Regions from separate parts of the Homo sapiens genome. Here region 2 is linked to region 1. Evidence: promoter capture Hi-C in 16 types of primary human blood cells and fetal thymus (Javierre and others, 2016). All regions are on one chromosome and are shown on one strand. The core of a region is centred on a gene start or on the middle of the fragment in contact, and the rest is flanking DNA. Distances in the headings are between cores, read along the strand shown. Region 1 holds the start of GRHPR (glyoxylate and hydroxypyruvate reductase). Region 2 holds the start of ZCCHC7 (zinc finger CCHC-type containing 7).

Region 1 (3,697 bases), core at 511-3,010:
GAGTCCATGAAATAGAAAACTCTCATAGTTGGACTGGGCCAGGAAAGATAAGGTCAAGGCCACCCAACGCTTCCACGGCAGCTCACAGCAACCAGATATTTGTCCCAGTGATGCACGGTGCCTCCTGGCCCTTGCCATGGAATTCAGTACAGTCAGCACGTGTGGAGCCTCTATGTGGCAGGACACAGGATAGCTACTTGCACCTCCTGACTGAGCCCAGGGCACTGACCACCTTTCATCCACCTCCCCATGAGCAGGGTACAGCGTGAGCTACTGTTACCATGGGCGCGGTTGCTGCCTTCCACCTTCTCCTGCTCAGTACAAAGTGGGTCCTTGGCAAAGGTTTTGTTGCAGTGAACAAAATTTGAAAATCTCATATGCCCCTAGAACTGGCTGCTGAGGCTGGATTGCATCCTCTTCCTATCTAACATTGGAAACACAAACCTGATCAAATGCAGTGATCAGACAGCAGTCAGACACTTCTGAGTACAAGCCCCAGCTCCTCCACCTGGGAGCTGCATGGCTTTGGGAAGAAACTTAACCCTAAGTCCAGCCTCCAGTTTTTAATCTGTGCAATGGGAATTATAATACTGACTTCACAGTGCTACCAGGATTAAAAGTTTATGTATATGAAGCACCTGGCAAGGTTGGCCCACAAAAAGGGTTCCATTTAGCAAGGGTGGGCCAGGTGCAGTGGTTCATGCCTGTAATCCCAGCACTTTGGGAGGCTGAGGTGGGAGGATCCCTTCGTACAGGAGTTCAGGACCAGCCTGGGCAACACAGTGAGACCCTCGTCTTTGAAAAAAATAAAAAATTAGCCAGGCATGGTAGTGCATGCCTGTAGTAGTCCCAGCTACTTGGGAGGCTGAGGTGGAAGTATCTCTTGAGTCCAGGAGGTTGAGGCTGCAGTGAGGTATAATGGTGCCACTGCACTCCAGCCTGGATGAGAGTGAGACCCTGTCTTAAAAATTAAAGGGTCCTCAGGCCAGTCATGGTGACTAACACCTGTAATCCCAACACTTTGGGAGGCTGAGGCAAGAGGATTGCTTGAGCCCAGGAATTTGAGACCAGCCTGAGCAACAGAGTGAGACCCCCATCTCTACAAAAAAAAAATCAGAAAATTAGCCGGTAGTGATTGTTTGCGCCTGTAGTCCCAGCTACTCGGGAGGCTCAGGTGGGAGAACTGATTGGGCCCAAGAAGTCGAGGCTGCAGTAAGCCACGATCGATCGAGCCACTGCACTCCAGCCTGTGCAGCAGAGTGAGACTGTCTCAAAAAAAAAAAAAAAAAGATAAGTAAATATAAAGAAGAAGAGTCATCAAAGCCCCCTGCCAAACGTCCAAGGGCCTGGTCAGTGACCGCCATGTCCCTGACCCCACATGTCCTGTGGGAGCGTGGAGAATTAGCCTGGACCTTGCCTCAGGGGCAATCTCCCCTCTCCAAAGCCGGAACTGCAGGTCCCAGCGTCGTCTTAAGAGGAGAACTGGGCCCCAGAGAACTTTCTCCGAGACTCCCCAAAACTCCAAGCCTGCCCCAGCCGGCCACAAGGCCCAAACGCCCCGCCCGGCTCTCCGGTCCCTGGGACCGCCCTGCTCCCTCCTCCACGGCGCGCGAGGCTCTTACTCTGCCGCCCGGGCGAGCGCGACCCTACCCTCGGCGGGTATCCTGCGGGTGACGAACACCTTCATGAGTCGCACCGGTCTCATCCGCAGTGCAGCCGCCGACCCGGACCTGGCAGTACAGAAGCTGGCCCGGGAATGTAGCTGGGCCGGGGCGGGGCCAGGCTGGAGTGGGCGGGAGAGACGTCGCGCGCGGCGTGCGCAGGGGGTGTGGCTTCGCGAGAGGGAGCGCCGGGTTGCGGCTGAGCGGTGACTGTGCGTGCTCGGGGAGTGACAGTAACAGTGACCCTACACAGTGTCCTTGTGTGTGTGTGGGGGGGTGCGCCTCGTGCCACTGGGGAATCAGGGCCCCGGGGGAGAGGGGGCAGTATCCCGTCCAAGGCCTCATGGGAGCCCTGCTTTTTCTACACGCTCAGGGTCCTGTTTCCACAGGCTCAGGCCTTAAGAGACTGAAAGCCCCCACTTTTTCTGTCTCTTGGGTTGGCCCAGGGTAGAAACCCAGGTTCCAGGCTGTGAGGAAGTCCAGGACACACAGAGAGGTCACGTGTAGGTGTTCAGGCCAACAGCACAGCCAGGGGCCCGGCTCACAGCCACCGTCAATGACCAGAGGTATGAGTGAGGAAGCCTTCGGGTGACTCCAGGCCAACTCCCACCTGACTACAGCTAAAACTGCAAGAAAGAGCCTTTAGGAGAATCACTGGCTGAGCCCAGTCAACCCCGGAACCATAAGAGATGATAATGCACTGACTGCTGTTGCTCTAAGCCGTTCAATTTTGGAGTAATTCTTTATGCAGCAATAAATAAGTGATACGCTATGTGTGCGAAAGCCAGAAGCCATAAGAGTACAACTAATTCTCCATTGAAAAATTAACCGTACCATCCTGAATGCATCTGATCTTGGAAACTAAGCCTGGTTAGGGCTTGTATGGGAGACTGCCTGGAAATACCAGGTGCCTGGAAATACCAGGCTTATGTTTATCTTAAAAAAAAAAAATTAACAAAATCATAAGACAACAAACCGGGAAAAATACCATATATTTGCAACTCATTTTATAGACAAGGGGTTGATTTACTTATTGCACAAATAGTTCCTAAGACAAAGATGCCCAGCTTATCTGAATAAGCAAAGGATATCAATGGACAGTTTATAGAAAAGAAAATGGCCTTTAAATGTATGGCTGGGCGCGGTGGCTCATGCCTGTAATCCCAGCACTTTCGGAGGCCGAGGCAGGCGGATCACTTGAGGTCAGAAGTTTGAGACCAGCCTGGCCAACATGGTGAAACTCTGTCTGTACTGAATATACAAACATTAGGTGGGCATGGTGGCACATGCCTGTAATTCCAGCTACTCAGGAGGCTGAGGCAGGAGAATTGCTCATGAGTCCAGGAGATGGAGGTTGCAGTGAGCCGAGATCCCATCACTACACTCCAGCCTGGGTGACAGAGTGAGACTCCATCTAAAACAAAAAAAAACAAAACAAACAAAAAAAAAAAACAAAAGATGAAAAGTGCTCAACTTGACTCACAAAAGAACTGCATATTAAAATTACAGCAAGATACCAATGTAAAAAATAATACATTGGGGAACCAGGTGCTTTCATACGTTGCTGGTAGGAGTGTAAATCAGCAACTTCAATAAGAAAGTTTGGCAGTAGCTATCAAAGTTTAGACTGCACATCTTTTTTGACCCAGAAATTTTGCTTTTAGGAATTTACCTTACAGACGCGTTCACACATGTGCAAAATGCCATCTGCCAAAGGCTCTTCATTGTGGCATTGTTGGAATAGTAAAATATGGGAAACAACCTAAAGGTCCACTCATAGGGGACTGTTCATTACGTATGCTTCATTCCCACAGTGAAATACTCTGCATCAATCAAAAGAGTGAGGCAGCTCTGTGCGTACCAGTGTGGAATGATCTCCAAGATGTACTGTCCAGTGAGAAAACAGGGTGATGCAAAGTGCATATGTTACCATTTATAGGAGAAAGTATATGCCTATTCTTTTTTTTTTTTTTTTTTTTTTTTTTTTGAGACAGGATCTCAGTCTGTTATCTAGGCTGGAGGGCAATGGTGCAATC
Region 2 (3,694 bases), core at 351-2,850, 300 kb after region 1:
TGGTCATTCTGACCTTTTGCTCTTATTTACTTCCAAATATCTTTAGCCTCCCTAGATGTTCCTTCTTGATGACACACGCATCCATCTCCGGCCGATTTAAATCAAATCCACAGCCTCATTTTCAGTCCAATTTTCATTGGAATGTGATGAATACACTTTACTTTCAAAGTAAAATTTTTCTTACTCTTAGTAAGCTGCCCTGACAGGACAGTTGAAACACAATTGTCTAAAGGGTTAAAATGTCTGTCCATTTTTCAAATGCGATGGCCACTCTGAATCAAATCTGATTGGGATGGAGAATCCAAATGTGTAAAACAAAAGTCACAAAAGACAAACAGAGCACAGTATTTCAGTGGGGGAAAAAAAATAAGCTAAATTTAGTCACTTAAGTCCCAGCTCTTCTTGGGATATATATATGATTTTTACGAGAACTAATCCTATCCGGAAACATTTCCTTCACCTTTCCCTTAGCCCTTTTCCTTCGGTCATGCAGTCTCTTACCGTGCTAATTATCATATTAATATAATCCTCACTTGCGATCCTTCCTGACTTTATTCCCCATGCTCAGATTCTCCTGAAAGCATAACGCTTTCCTAAGTATACACACAATCCATTTAAAAGTCTTTGTATGCGACAGCCTAACTATTCAAACACGAAGTCATTTCTCTAACGGTCCTAGAAAAAATTTTAAAAAGAAAAAGAAAACCACAAAGTCAAGAGCTTCTGAGGGGACCTGAAAAGTCATCAAATTGAACGCTCTCGTTTTATAGTTGGAGAAAGGAGCTCAGAGAAACTTATTCACTGAGCTAAAAAGGCCCTACTAATGCAGCCCGTAATTCAACTGTGCAATCTGAAATAATCTTAAATTCAGCTTCAATAAGAGCTTTCTGGAATCGCCAGCGAATCCGTGGGGGAGCCACGGCTAGAACCCAGGCCTCCTGATTCCCAGCCACAGCTTTTCCACCGAACCAGCAGCTCTTCCCAAAAGTTGAAGGCAACTGTCCGCTCACAGGATGGGAGGGATAAAGGGCGCCTTAGTAAACACAGTCCAAGTCTACTCGTTTTACATGAGGAAAGGGTCACAGCTCCCGAAATTTTGGATTCTACTGCTGCAGCTGCTGCTTCTGACAGCAGAGGCGGGAGGTGGCCCAGGACTACTCGGTCCTCAAAGACTGGACTCTCTCTCGGCGCGCCGGGACCTCCGCGCTTCACTGACTGGCTTCCCTAGAAGACTGGGGGCCTTGCGGGGAAATAAAAAGGGCAGACACGCCACCCTCACCGAGGCCCTAGACGCCCAGCCGCTCTAGAATCACGGCATTAGCCCTTGGAAAGCCAGGGAGACGCGGACCCCCTAGACCCGCAGCCCGGCCGCGTGGGGCGGCGCGCAGGTGACGGACCAGGAGCTGCGCCCTGCCACGAGTGAGGGGCGGACGGGAGACGTCGAGGCCGGCGAGGGGGCACGCGCTAGTTCCACAGCCCGGCGGGCAAGAAGGAGGGTAGGCAGGGGTCCCGAGCCGCGGGCGGCGGGGGTCCGTCACACACATACTCACTGCCGCAGCTGCGAACAGGAAGCACCAACCGGGAACCAAAACGCGTAGAGGGACGGGGAGGGGCGAGGACAAATGAGGTAAGGAGGCCGCGTCCGCGCAGACCCGGGAGGGAAGGCACTTCCGGGGACAACACAGCTCTAGTCACCGCCTTTCCGTCCCCGCCCACCTGCCGCGCCTGATGTGCGCATGCGTAGTGGGTGCGAACCGTTCTCTGCCCCGCCCATAATTATTAGGTTTGCCTTCCTTGCTTTCCCCCTTCCCCTTCCCAACTTCTCTTGAAGCTACCTAGGCTGCATCTATTATTTGAATGACTCGTACGAAGGAGATGCTATTTACCGGGCAAAAGCCGGGGAGTTCGTGCCCTCTACCCCCGCGAGGAAAACTACAACCCCCATGAGGACACGGGCGAGGTTGAGGCCGGGCTCCGCCTCCTTCTCCCTGGCGCTCGGTGGACGCCTTCTCAGTGCCACGTGGCGCGGGAGCCTAGCTGATCGCGTGCATGACGAGGGCCAGCGTGGCTGGCTGCTTGGCCCGCAGACCTGGGCAGCGGGAAACGCGTACTTGAGAGCGCATGGCTTCAAGCTTCTCCCTTGCGCTCATGATCTTAGGCTGGTCGCTTTTTCTTTTAGGCGGAACACAGTTCACACTGGGCGCCTCCAACTCTCTGGAATTCTAGGCAACAGATTAACACTTTGTGAATCTCGAAGAGCTGCACTCCTGCTAAATATTGGAGTTAATGCTGATCCTTTGGAAGTCTCTGAAGGTTGCAAGATTGTGCTGGGAGCCTCTGGCTTCATTTGCCCTTCTCACACCTTATTTTAATACAAGGTAAACCCATCTGTAGAACTTTAGAAATAACTGTCGACCTAAAGGAAAAACTGAGGCAAAGTTAATATAAGTGGAGAATTTATTTGGGCCAAGTTTGATGAGGGCAACCTGGGATCATCAATTCAAGTTGCCCTTAATATGTGATCCGATAAGCAGCAGTTTCAACTGAGTTCTTTGTCTTGTGAAGCTCCAGGCTTAAAGGTATCGATCCTCCCACCTCTGTCTCCCAAAGCACTGGGATCACAGGCATGAGCCATTACACTTCTTGTAGCAGCTACGAGTGAATTTTTTTCTTTCTTTATGGTTTTTTTTTTTTTTTTTTTTTTTTTTTTCCTGAGACGGAGTTTCGCAGTTGTTGCCCAGGCTGGAGTGCAATGGCGCGGTCTCGGCTCACTGCAACCTCCGCCTCCCAGATTCAAGCCATCCTCCTGCCTCAGCCTCCGAAGTAGCTGGGATTACAGGCGCCTGCCACCACGCCCAGCTAATTTTTGTATTTTTAGTAGAGTCGGGGTTTCACCATGTTGGCCAGGCTGGTCTCGAACTCCTGGCCTCGACCTGCCAAAGTGCTGGGATTAGAGGCGTGAGCCACCGCGCCCGGCCACGAGTGAATTTTTAAAGGAAAAAAGAAGAGGCTTTTGCTAAACTACATACCAAGAATTGACACTAAAATAACATAAGCTATCCATTGGCTACACATTGTTCTTTCTATCACAAATTTTAGGAACACGAAGATAAAGGGTGATGCAGGTACTGGGAAGAAAAGAACAAAATGCCTTTAAACAATTGCCACACACCCCTACCCCCCACCCCCACCCCCACCACCACCTACATGGGATGGTGCTAACTGAAGTACCATACTCAAGTCCCTCTGGGCCTGATAAAGTTTGAATGCCTGCCTGGCTAATGGGGTAGCTCTCACCTGTTTGGGAGCCCGAAGTGGGAGGATAGCTTAAGGCCGAGAATTCGAAACCAGCCGGGGTAATATAGCAAGACGCTGTCTCTACAAAAAAATTTAAAAATTTAAAAATTAACTGGGCGACTGGGCGCAGTGGCTCACGCCTGTAATCCCAGCACTTTGGGAGGCCGAGGCGGGCGGATCACCTGAGGTCAGGAGTTGGAGACCAGCCTGACCAACATGGCGAAACCCCGTCTCTAGTAAAAATACAAAATTAGCCGGGCGTGATGGCGCATGCCTGTAATCCTAGCCACTCCTGAGGTTAAGGCAGGAGAATCGCTTTAACCCGGCAGGCGGAGGTTGCAGTGAGCCGAGATTGCGCCATTGCACTCCACCCTGGGCAGCAAGAGAGAAACTCCGT

The links. Contacts are between HindIII fragments. The CHiCAGO score rates a contact against its expected background, and 5 or more counts as called.
Region 2: the fragment with the promoter of ZCCHC7 here is called in contact with the fragment with the promoter of GRHPR in region 1 in 7 of 17 cell types (fetal thymus, total B cells, erythroblasts and 4 more); the score reaches 10.1 in fetal thymus.

Annotation. Positions count from the first base shown.
Region 1 is chr9:37,420,759-37,424,455 of GRCh38, reverse strand. It overlaps GRHPR (glyoxylate and hydroxypyruvate reductase), which reads right to left and starts at 1,760. Exons shown (of 9, transcript NM_012203.2): 1 at 1,623-1,760. The coding sequence starts at 1,705. RefSeq lists enhancers at 1,163-1,788, 1,789-2,414 and a silencer at 1,799-1,948. The HindIII fragment of the contact is 7,938 bases long and covers 1-3,697 here.
Region 2 is chr9:37,118,480-37,122,173 of GRCh38, reverse strand. ZCCHC7 (zinc finger CCHC-type containing 7) reads right to left here and starts at 1,600. Exons shown (of 9, transcript NM_032226.3): 1 at 1,551-1,600. It overlaps LOC105376034 (a long non-coding RNA gene), which reads left to right and starts at 1,774. Exons shown (of 3, transcript NR_188580.1): 1 at 1,774-2,378. RefSeq lists an enhancer at 1,859-1,938. The HindIII fragment of the contact is 2,192 bases long and covers 1-2,134 here.